Regions from separate parts of the Homo sapiens genome. Here all the other regions are linked to region 1. Evidence: promoter capture Hi-C in 16 types of primary human blood cells and fetal thymus (Javierre and others, 2016). All regions are on one chromosome and are shown on one strand. Each heading gives the region's core, a stretch centred on a gene start or on the middle of the fragment in contact. The rest is flanking DNA. Distances are from core to core; before and after follow the strand shown.

Region 1 (3,879 bases), core at 346-2,845:
AGCCACCCCATCCACCCCAGGCCATCTGCTACCCTCCCCCATCCTGGGGACCTGAGAGCATGGCAAGGGAGGAGCAGGGGGGGGTTGGAGCCGATCCCCCTGCCGCAGATCACGCAGTGGCCACAATTACCTGCATCCAGACCCCTTCTGAGCCTAATCTTGCCTCTGACCAACCCAGGAAGGAAAGATTCCTTGGAGGTTAAGAACCCAGGGAGAAGGAAATTCTTGCATCAAGGAACACAGAATAATAGCAATGATCCATTCCAAAGAAAGGCACCCTAGTTCCAATGACTTTGGGCTCTGAAATTGGACTTGTCCTGCGTTCTCATCCCAGTTTCTCTCTCTCAAGCTGTGTGCCCTTGAAGAAGCCACCCTCAATGTTCCCAGGCCTCCACTTTGTCATCTGAAAACAAATTTTTCTTAATGACATGAGTAGTAATACTGTACAAGGGCCAAGGCTGTTTTGTTCTCTATTGTATCGCAGCATCAGGGACAGTGCCTGGCACTTAGTAGGTAGGCCCTGAGTGCTGTTGTTTGAATGGAGAGCCAGTTGTGCCCCAGGGCAGGTGCTGCAGGCTGCAACTCCAGCTCAGTGAATTCAATCCTCTGAGCCCTTTCAGCATCACGGTGTTGATTCTTCAAAGGATGGATGAAAGATTTGAAGGGGAATTTCCCAGCTGAAAGGATTGAAAAAGAGTGAAGTGAAATTTCTTTCTCTTTCTTTCTTTCTTTTTTTTTTTTTTTTTTGAGACAAGGTTTTGCTCTGTCTCCCAGGCTCGAATCTAGTTGCTTGATCATGGCTGACTGCAGCCTCAAACTCCTGTGCTCAAGAGATCCTCCCACCTCAGACTCCAGAGTACCTGGGGCTACAAGCATGTGCTACCACGCCTGGCTAATTAAAAAAAAAATTTTTTTTTTGTAGAGATGGGGTCTCACAATATTGTTGCCCAGCTCGTCTCAAACTCCTGGGCTCAAGTGATTCTTCCGCCTCGGCCTCCCAAAGTGCTGGGATGACAGGCATGAACCACCGCGCCTAGTCGAAATTTCTTGTCTTGACCAAGTGAAGTCAAAGTAAGCTCCTAAGGCTGTTTCCTCATCTGTAAAATAGGGATAATAAGCGTAACTCACAGAGCTGGTCGCTCTGGGGAGTAAATGCGATAACGTCTGTGACGTGCTTGCTTGGAACCGGACCTGGCACACAGTAAGTGCTCAATAAACGTTCATTCAAGGTGAGGAGTGGGGACGGCTTGGAGGAGCCCGGGGTCCTCCCAGCAGCCTGGGGGAGTCGGGTCCAGCTCTCTGCCGCCGGGAGGGGCGTGGCCAACCCAGAGGGACGTGGTCCAGGCTTCAAGGCTGGACCAATGGGGGCGCCGAAGGGCGTGGCCCTACCCGGCATGGGCGTGACCTCGTTGGGTGGGAGGGGCCAGGCGCTGTGGGAGCCTCCGGGAAGAAGATGCTCGGGCCAGCAGCCACCGCCAGCCCCGTCGCCGCCGCCGCCCGCGCCCGCCGCCCCCCGGGCCCCCACTAGCGGCCGCCTCCGCCTCCCACTCCGGCCACGCTCCTCCGGCCCCCCACCCCGAGCAGGGTCTGGGGGGCTCGGCCCTCTTGCCCCAGGGAGCCAAGAAGAAGCGGGGAGTCCCGTCCCCCCAGTGGCGCGTCCAGTCCCCAGCCTCTGTGGTCCCAGGAGAGACCCCACCTCTCAGTTCTTTCCCGGCCCTATCGGAGACCCCCCTCGGCCCTGCCATCCTGCTCACGGCCGCTCTCCAGGCTCTGTCAGCCCCCCGAGAACCGGCTCCCCCCTACCCCCGCCTTCCCTCTCCGGGGCTCCCCCTCCCCCATCCCTCCACCGCCCCCTCCCCCTCCCACCTCCCCTCCCCTCCCCCTCCCCCGCCCCCCGCCCCCCGCCCCCCCCCACCATGAGGATGATGGCCGCCGGCGCGGTGCACGGCCTCTTCACGGCCTCCGCGGCCCCGCAGCCGCCGCCGCCCCCGCCGCCGCCGCCGCCGCAACCCCAGCCTCCCCAGCAGCCGTCGCCGCCGCCACAGCAGCCGCCGCCGCCGCCGCCGCAGCCGCCGCAGCAGCAGCAGCCGCCGCCCCAGGCCCCCCCCATGGAGCCCGAGGCCCCGGATTCCCGCAAGAGGCCCCTCGAAACGCCCCCCGAGGTGGTCTGCACCAAGCGCAGCAACACGGGAGGTGAGAAAGGGCTGCGGCTCGGGGCGGGGGAGCGGGCAGGGGGCCTCGCCTTTCTCCATCCTTTCCCCCCCTCCCGTGGCAGGTGCAAGGGCTCTGGGGAGGGGAGAGACACCCCTCCCCGAGGCGGGGGACAGAGCGGGGAGTTGAGGAGGGGGCTGGACCCCCTCCTCCTCTCGCTGAGGCCCGGGGCTGGGAGCTTTGTCTGCGAGGAGAGGGGTGGGGGGGAGGGGGTGATAAGTGTCCTTGGGGGGCGCAGAAGATGGGGGGCGTGGGAGCCTCAGGGCAGGTGTCTGTGTGTCCTTGAGGGGTGTGTGATGTGACCCTTTCGGAGCAGGGGTGTTCCCCGAGCTCGCGTGTCCTGGCTGGGGGAGGGGAAGGAGTAGAGGCCTGTGGACCGGGAGCTTCCCAGCCTCCCTCCCTGGGGATGTCCTGAACAAGGGTTGTCCCAGATGGAGGCTTGTGTGGCCCTGGCCGGATCGTGCGTGGGGACAGGCTGGGTAGGTGTGTGGGGTGAAATGGAGGAAATGGTGGGTGTGTAAAGCTAGGTGGGAGAATGTGAGGCTAGGACAGGTGTGTATGTGTGTGCGTGTGTGTGTATGTGTGCCCTCTACAGCCTGGATGTGTGACATTAGGGATCAGGAATATGACAGCATAGGGGGGTGTATGAGAAAGACAGGGGACAGGGGCTGGGCTCCATGTTTGAGACCCTCCAGCGGGTACGTGTGACAAGGAAAGGTGTGTGCTTGTCACCCCCAAGGGGGCTGTGGCAGAGTGTGACACATGAGAGGGTGTGTGTGACATGCAAGGAGGTGTGTGGGGGACACCGAATGGGCTGGCTCTGGGTGTCAGCCAGAAGAGGCCGTGTAGATCAGAGGAAAGGGGTCCAGTGTGTGTGACACAGGCGTGGCTGGTGAGGGGATGTGACAAGAAAAGGGTGTGGGTGTGACTCCAGAGAGGCTGTGGCTGGGTGTGACACATGGAGGTGTGCAACAGTGACATCAGAGGGGGTGTGTGCAACAGGGAAGGTGGGTGTATGACGAGGGAGAGGCTGGGGCTTGTGGGTGAAACGCACGAGGGTGTGTAAAAAGGAGAAGGAAGGATGGGTCCCCATGTGACAGGGCACGTGTGCATATGACACCCAGCTGTGTGTATGGGTGTAACAAGGAGAGGTGTGTGTGTGAAATGGCTGAGTGTGTGACACCAGAGATATGGGGATGATTCTGCATGTGTTTGACAAGGGAGGCTGTGTGTGTGTCCGTGTGTATTGGAGATTGCCGAATGTTTGACACCACGGAAGGCAGTGTGAGGGAAGAGAGGGGCTCTCCCTGGGTGTGTGACCCAAGGAGGTGTGTGTACCAGAGAAGAAAAGCCGAGCTGGGAACTCTAGGTGCATGCCCTGCCGTGGGGGGCTCAGGGAAGAGGTGGGGTTTTTTGGGGTCCTCAGAGCCCTGTCCTCTAGCTCCCTGGTAGGAGGGAGACCCCGCAGCGGACAAGCCCCTCCCCGCGGTCACCTTGCCAAAATCTCCACTTCCTCTGGCCTTTTCCTCCGGATGGGAGAGGGATGGCTTCAGGCAGAGTGCACCCTTTCCTCTCCGCCAGGCCTGGCAGTGGGTGGGGTGGGGGCCTCCTACCTCCTCCCTACAGATGAATACAAGCCGACTTTCTTCCTCCCATCCTAGCCCTCCC
Region 2 (3,879 bases), core at 790-3,289, 290 kb before region 1:
CTAGCTTGCACAACATAGTGAGACCCCCATCTCTATGAAAAAGAAAAGAAAAGAAAAAAATTAGGCAGGCGCGGGGGTGCGGGCCTATAGTTCTAGCTACTTGGGGGGGTGAGGCAAGAGGATCATTTGAGCCCAGAAGATTGAGGCTGCAGTGAGCTGAGATCACACCACTGCACTCCAGCCTGGGCGACAGAGCAAGACCGAGAGTCACAGATGGCCTGTTCATTCCCTGCCTGTCTGGGGATGGGACCAAAGGCATATTATTTGGGACAGGTAAAAATCCTGTCAGTATATATGCTCATGTACAAGGACGATTAGCAGAAAAAGTAGTTGGAATCCCCTCGTGTCAAGGACAGGGAGAGAAATAGGAAGAACTTCATTGTTTTGTTTTGTTTTAAATAGAGACGGGCTTTCACCATGTTGCCCAGGCTGGTCTCAAACTCCTGGGCTCGAGCGATCGCTGGGTCTTCCAAAGGTCTGGGATTACAGGTGTGAGCCACCCTGCTGGGCTGAAATAGGAACTTAAAAAATGAATATGCCCCCCTCCACCACATGGGGGAGCCATAACCACGTTAATAACTCAGAAGCAGGCCCCACAAGTGAGTCAAATCAGCTCTGATGTCCCTCCAGGCTGAGGATGTAATTTAGAGGCATTTAGAAAATTCAGCTGAAACTCATACAGTTGCCTAAATGAACAGGTTTCCGAAGGATTTTCTTTCTCCAGTGTGGTTTGCCTAATTTTGTGGCCTCAGACAGCTGCTAACATTGTCCAAGTTTGGAGGTCCCAAATTTTCTGGCATCTTCAAAAAGATGCCACCTGCCCCCTTCACACTGCCTGGGTCAAAATATTGTGTTTTGCTTTTTGTTTTGAGATGGGGACTTGCTATGTTGGCTAGGCCGGTTTCAAACTCCTGGCCTCAAGTGATCCTCCTGCCTTGGCCTCCAGGCTGGAGTGCAGTGATGCAATCTCAGCTCACTGCAACCTCTGTCCCTCCGGTTCAAGAGATTCTCCTGCCTCAGGCTCCTGAGTAGCTGGGATTACAGGCACCGGCCACCATGTCCAGCTAATTTTTGTATTTTTTTTTAGTAGAGACCAGGTTTCACCATGTTGGCCAGGCTGGCCTCAAACTCTTGACCTCAAGTGAACTGCCCGAATGGGCCTCCCAAAGTGCTGGGATTACAGGCGTGAGTCACCGTGCCAGGCTTTGTTTCCCACCTTCTAAAATCCCATACAGGGTTAGATTATATGTGGGAACTGGCCATGGGACCAGTCCCTGGTGGGCACCACCCCTTATAACAGAGAAAGTTCCTAGTAGGTGTAGCTAACTGATTAACCTTTAACCTCTGCATTCCAATTTATTGGAGCTCCCATACAGATATGTGACTTTGCACTAGAGGATCTGAGATATATATGTGTGTGTGTATACATATATGTTGAGATGGAGTCTCACTCTGTCTCTGTCGCCCAGGCTGGAGTGCAGTGGTGCCATCACGGCTCACTGCAAACTCCACCTCCTGGGTTCAAGCAATTCTCCTGCCTCAGCCTCCCAAGTAGCTGGGATTACAGGTGTACACCACCACGCCTGGCTAAATTTCGTGTTTTTAGTAGAGATGGGGTTTCACTGCATTGGCTGGGCTGGTCTCGAACTCCTGACCTCAGGTGATCCACCCACCTTGGCCTCCCAAAGTGCTAGGATTACAGACGTGAGCCACTGCGCCCGGCCGAATCTGAATGATATCAATTGAGGTATTGGAAAGCACTAGAAAATTCTATGAGGTATCACCTGTTCTATGAGGACCCCAACTAAAGCAATAGTGTTACTCTCAGCGCTTCTGTAAGGGACACTGCAATATTGATGCGCCTGTGTTTTCTCACAGAATTACCCCATTAACCAGGGCAATCTAGTGGAGTTAGGACGAGGATTGTGTCGTAATTCGAGAGAGCTGGGAAGATGGTCCTTGGGCTCCCTGGATCAAAATATTATAGAGTTTTATTTTTCCAGAAGAATCAACCAATGCAGGCAGAGCAAGCAGCCCTGGAGTTGGGCATTAAACCATCAAGGATGTGGCAACTTAATAGCACGAGGCAGTGACAGCTGAGCATCGAGGATGGGGTCTCCAGCCCTGTGTGGCAGAGCTGCTCCCTCCTGCCTGGCATTGTGGATCCTGAAAGTCCTCAACTTGCTCCTCCACAATTGTCAGGGGAGATGGGTTCCTGGCCGGTCCTTTGTTTCTGGCTTCCAGAACAGCCAATTGCAGAGATAGTTTCCTACCTCTAGGAATGGTGTCTGCTCTGATTCTGTAAGAAAATTCCAGGAGCAGGGCCGGGCATGGTGGCTCACACCTGTAATCACTTTGAGAGGCTGAGGGGGTTTGGATCACTTGAGGTCAGGAGCTCAAGACCAGCCTGGCCAACATGGTGAAACCCCGCCTCTACTAAAAATACAAAAATTAGCTGGGTGTGGTGGTGCACACTTGTAAACCCAGGTACTCGGGAGGCCAAGGCACGAGGATCCTGGGAGGAAGGGGTTACAGTGAGCTGAGATCACGCCACTGCACTCCAGCCTGGACGACAGTGACACTCTGTCTCAAAAAAAAAAAAATTTAAAATTAAAATTAAAAAAAAGAGAAAATTTTAGGATAAGGTGCTATGGAGAAACCTCAGAAAAACAGCCAAAGGTGACAGAATTCTTGAATAAAAATGGGTCATAGGGATTTGTATCAAAATAAGTTGACGGTGTTTCCAGTTTGTTGAGCAGAGCAGCCACGTGAGGGTTTTGGGTTCCTGCTCTCCTCCTCCCATCCTCCCCCTCCAAACGCTCTGCTTCATGAAGTGGGGTTAACCAGGGTAGGGATGTGGTCTGACCACTGTGAAAATCAATATTATTTAAAAGCCACTTGAACCATAACAGCACTTTAAGTGATATGACTGTGATCTGAGTCACATATGATTACAACTTCCGTTTCTCACATTACAGGTCAACTCACTTTCTTCTTCTTTTTCTTTTGTTGTTGTTGTTTGCTTTTGAGATGGAGTCTCGTTCTGTCACCCAGGCTGGAGTGCAGTGGTGTGTTCTCAGCTCACAGTAACCTCCACATCCCGGATTCAAGCAATTCTCCTGCCTCAGTAGCTACCCAGATCTCGAGTAGCTGGGATCACACCTGGCTAATTTTTGTATTTTTAGTGGAGACGGGGTTTCACCATGTTGGCCAGGCTGGTCTTGAACTCCTGACCTCAAGTGATCCACCCGCCTCGGCCTCCCAAAGTGTTGGGATTACAGGTGTGAGCCACTGCGCCCAGACTAATTCATGTTCTTATTTTTCTTGTTCTGTATAATGACTAGGGAGAGTTAAATCACTTTGGGGCAAAAATCACTGCCTTCTGGTGTTTGTTTGTTTTTAGACACAGTCTGGCTCTGTCACCCAAGCTGGCAGGTAGTGGCGCGATCTCAGCTCGACTCTGCCTCCCGGGTTCAAGTCATCCTCTTACCTCAGCCTCCTGAGTAGTTGGGACTACAGGTGTGTGCGACTGTGCCCAGTTCATTTTTGTATGTTTTGGTAGAGGTGGAGTTTTGCCACGTTGCCCAGGCTGGTCTTGAGCTCCTATATATAAAATGTCATATATATATGACACATATATATGACATTTTATATATGTATATCATATATATATCATATATATAATATGTATATCTCATATATGTCATATATGTATATATATGACAAAGACAGAGGAGTCTAAGTAAATGTATGTACTTCTTCAGAGACAGGGTCTTACTCGGTTGCCCAGATAGGAGTGCCGTCTACTCCACTTCCACCCCCAGGGCCGGGCAGGTGACGCTTTGGCCTCTACCTGGGAGACACTAGAGCTCACACTGT
Region 3 (3,879 bases), core at 420-2,919, 270 kb before region 1:
CATACAAGATCATGTCATTTGCAAATAGAAACCATTTTACTTCATCTTGCTCAATCTGAATGCATTTTCTCTTCTTGCCTAACTTTCCTGGCTTGAACCTCCAGAGCTATGTTGAATAGAGTGGTAAGAGTGAATATACTTATCCTGTTCCTGATGTTAGGGGGAGAGCATTCAATCTTTCACAATTAAGTATGATGTTAGCTATGAGTTTATTGTAGATGCTCTTTAACAGGTTGAGGAAGCTCTCTTCTGTTCCTAGTTTGTTCTTTGTACTTTATCATGAAAGAGTGTAGATTTTGTCAAATGCTCTTTCAATATCATTTGAGAGAATTACGTGACTTCCTCTATAGTCTAGTAATATGGTATATTATATTGATTGATTTTCTTATGTTGAACCAACTGCATCCCCGGGATAAATCCCACTTGGTCATGATGTATCATTGTTTTTTTTTTTTTTTTTTTTTCGGAGTCTCGCTCTGTCACCCAGACTGGAGTGCAGTGGTACGATCTTGGCTCACTGCAATCTCCACCTCCCGGGTTCAAGCAATTCTCCTGCCTCAGCCTCCCAAGTAGCTGGGACTACAGGAGCGTGCCACCATGCCGGGCTAATTTTTTGTATTTTTAGTAGAGACGAGGTTTCACCATGTTAGCCAGGATGGTCTCGATCTCCCGACCCCGTGATCCACCCACCTTGGCCTCCCAAAGTGCTGGGATTACAGGTGTGAGCCACTGTGCCCGGCTGATATATCATTCTTTATATATGCTGCTGGATTTGGTTTGCTATATTTTGTTGAGGATTTTTGAATTTATATTCATAAGAGATGTTGGTCTGTAGTTTTTTCTTTTTAATTTCTTGTGATATCTTTGATTTTGGTGTTAGGGTAATACAGACCTCAGAGTAAATTGGAAAGTTCTGTTTGACTTTTTTGAAAAGTTTGTGAATGATTGGTATTAATTCTTCTCTAAATGTTTTGTAAATTTTACTGTCTGGGTCTGGAGGGGCATTTCCAGTATATGAGCATTCCCCTTTCTCTGCATCCTTGCCAGCATCTGTTATTCTTTGTCTTTTTGATAAAAGCCATTTTAACCGAAGTGGGACATCTCAGTGTGGTTTTGATTTGCATTTCCCTGATGATAAGTGTTGTTGAACATTTTTTCATATATCCGTTGACTATTTGTATGTCTTCCTTTAATACATGGCTATTCAGACCTCTTGCCCATTTAAAAATCAGATTCTTTATTTTTCCCAGCAATACAATTACATACATATTGTTTCATGCCATGACTTTTAAAACCAGTTAAGGGGAGAAAGGGTAAGAAATAAGCGATTATGCTGTTTTTATAAGTAATTACACAATTACATATAAGCAATAATTATATAACATGCATACAAGTAATAATTACATAATTACATATGAACAATTATACCTTTCTTAGTGCTCTCCAGAGGGTGCAGCCCTAAGCATACGCACTGTCTCTCTAACTACTCCAGATAGTTATGGCATAAGCTGGCCTCTTTTTGACTGTCCTTTCCTTGATGTTTCTGTTAAGCTTCTGGCTTGTCTGCCTCTGTTGGTATCACTTGCATCTGTTAGACTCCTCTTATTGTTAATTGATTGCTCTATTCTTTTTAATAGGCCTATAGCACAATGCATAAATCATTTTGTGGGCTGATTAAAGTCTAGCTTCTTTGCCAAGTCAGAGTGTTGCCAGGGTTTGAGGCTGTCTCTCACTCCAGGAGGGCCCTTCTTAGTTATCTCTTTTTCTGATTATCTCTGTTAAGCTTCTGCCTTGTCTTTTTGTTTGTTGTTGCTACTGCAAGCCCTTTTTTGGTTTTTCAGCACCAAAATTTCCTTTTTTATTTTTTCAATGTCATTAAGCATCAACTTCTCCACACTCTTATTTCAAGTAAAGCCAGTTTTAGGGATACTTGTGGAGCTCTCTGTTCTGATGGCCTCCCTCTCCCCCGGGCAGAACCACTGAGCCGCTGGACTGGAGCTGGTGTCAGGGACAGCAGCTAGCTTCTCCTGCGGTGATGTCTTTCCTCTACAGCTAGAACACTGGGAGGGGGTGGTAGCTGTTCGTCTTCTCGGTTTGCCCTTTCTTGTGTGGAACCTCTGCCCCATGAGTGAACTCAGGCAGGATCAGTGAAGCCCAGTGTGCTTGACCTGCTAAACCTGGCGTGGAACTTCCACGCTAGGAGGAGGGGCTGGATGGGAGAAGGAGCCCCGGTGCTGCAAGCCACAATTTCTAACTAATATAGCACATCCGCAACATGGAGACAGCAGGATAAAAGATGCTGGTGCACTGCCCTTTCTGAACTGAAACTGTAGCCCTAGGCTGGGAGCTGGGGAGAGGTGGAGTCCCATTTTCTTGACTGTGACTGACCATAATAGAGCTTCAATTACAGAGTTGGCTGGGGATGTGGGGAATAGGAGTAATGTGTGGCTTAAATGCCCTCAGACTCTTGCTGCTGTTTACAGATTGAGTATAATGTCTTTTTCTTTTTCTTTCTTTCTTTTTTTTTTTTTTTTTTTTTGAGACAGAGTCTTGCTCTGTCATCAGGCTGGAGTGCTGTGGCGTGATCTTGGCTCACTGCAACCTCTGCCTCCAAGGTTCAAGGGATTCTCCTGCCTCAGCCTCCGAAGTAGCTGGGATTACAGGCATGCGCCACCACACCCGGCTAATTTTGTATTTTTAGTAGAAACGGGGTTTCTCCATGTTGGTCAGGCTGGTCTCGAACTCCCGACCTCAGGTGATCTGCTCTCCTCAGCCTCCCAAAGTGTTGGGATTACAGGTGTGAGCCACCGCACCTGGCTAACAGAATTTCTTGAATAAACATTTCTTCGTTTGCGATATGCCCTAAGGACAATTTCCAGAGACTTAATTAGTTGTTTTTATTAAAAATTTTTTTTCACCAGTTAAATGGTTGTTTTGCTGGGAGGAGGGCGCCCATGCTCTTCACACTGGCTTTTGGAAATCCTGCTTTATAGTTTGAAATCTTTTGCTTTTAAGTCTATGATCCATTTCAAATTAATTTTCACATTTGGTGTGACATAAGGGTCAAGATACATTCCCCCCATATAGATATCTATTAAAAGGACTAATGTCTGCCTGGTGAGTTGTAGTGGTACATTTGTCACAAATCACTGATTGTCTATGTGTGGATCTGTGTCTGAACTCTGTTTTTTTCCATTGATAAATTTGTTTACCTTATACAATACCACACCCTAAATTATTATAATTTCATAAAAATTCCTGATCTGTTAGTGTAAGTCCTATAACTTTGTTTAGTTTCTTCAATATTGTATTGTCATTTTCATTTTCTGTCATTTTCATTTTCTGATCCTTTTTTTTTAAATTTGTGCAAGTAGAGTCAGGGTGTCACTGTGTTGCCCAGGCTAGTCTTGAACTCCTGGGCTCAAGTGATCCTCCTGCCATGGCCTCCCAAAGTGCTAGGATTACATGTGTGAGCCACCACACCTGGCCATCATTTTCTGATAAATTTTAGAATCAGTTTGTTAACTTATACAAAATCTTGCTGTAATATTTGTTGAGTTTGCCTTGAATATATAGATCAATTTGGGGAACATTGACATCTTTATTACATTGAGTCTTCCAAAGCATAAATATGGTTTATTTCCCATTTGTTTAGGTCTTCTCTAACATCTTTCAGCAGAGTTTTGTAGAGGTCTCTCACCTTTCTTTAGATTTAATTCTAGGTATTTGTTATTTTTGATGTCATTGTAAATGGTAATGGAGAATTGACTTCTATCTAGAGCCATAAAACAAACCTCAACAAGTTCTAAAATTTTGAAATTTAACAGAGTGTGTTCTCTGACCATAATTTGATCAAACTAACGATTACAGAAAGATCTC

What was found. Contacts are between HindIII fragments. The CHiCAGO score rates a contact against its expected background, and 5 or more counts as called.
Region 2: a contact is called between a fragment that was not itself captured here and the fragment with the promoter of NOVA2 in region 1, in 2 of 17 cell types (M1 macrophages and M2 macrophages). The highest score is 6.3, in M1 macrophages.
Region 3: a fragment that was not itself captured here is called in contact with the fragment with the promoter of NOVA2 in region 1 in 2 of 17 cell types (M1 macrophages and M2 macrophages); the score reaches 6.1 in M1 macrophages.

The regions. Positions count from the first base shown.
Region 1 is chr19:45,971,581-45,975,459 of GRCh38, reverse strand. It overlaps NOVA2 (NOVA alternative splicing regulator 2), which reads left to right and starts at 1,595. Exons shown (of 4, transcript NM_002516.4): 1 at 1,595-2,193. The coding sequence starts at 2,109. RefSeq lists a silencer at 1,270-1,429. The HindIII fragment of the contact is 31,968 bases long and covers 1-3,879 here.
Region 2 is chr19:46,262,108-46,265,986 of GRCh38, reverse strand. No RefSeq gene overlaps it. Among named protein-coding and RNA genes, the nearest start is that of HIF3A, 33 kb to the left of the region's middle. RefSeq lists enhancers at 381-675, 2,310-3,509. The HindIII fragment of the contact is 8,186 bases long and covers 1-3,879 here.
Region 3 is chr19:46,243,951-46,247,829 of GRCh38, reverse strand. All of the region lies in intron 1 of LOC124904728 (a long non-coding RNA gene), which reads left to right. Among named protein-coding and RNA genes, the nearest start is that of IGFL1, 16 kb to the right of the region's middle. The HindIII fragment of the contact is 232 bases long and covers 1,554-1,785 here.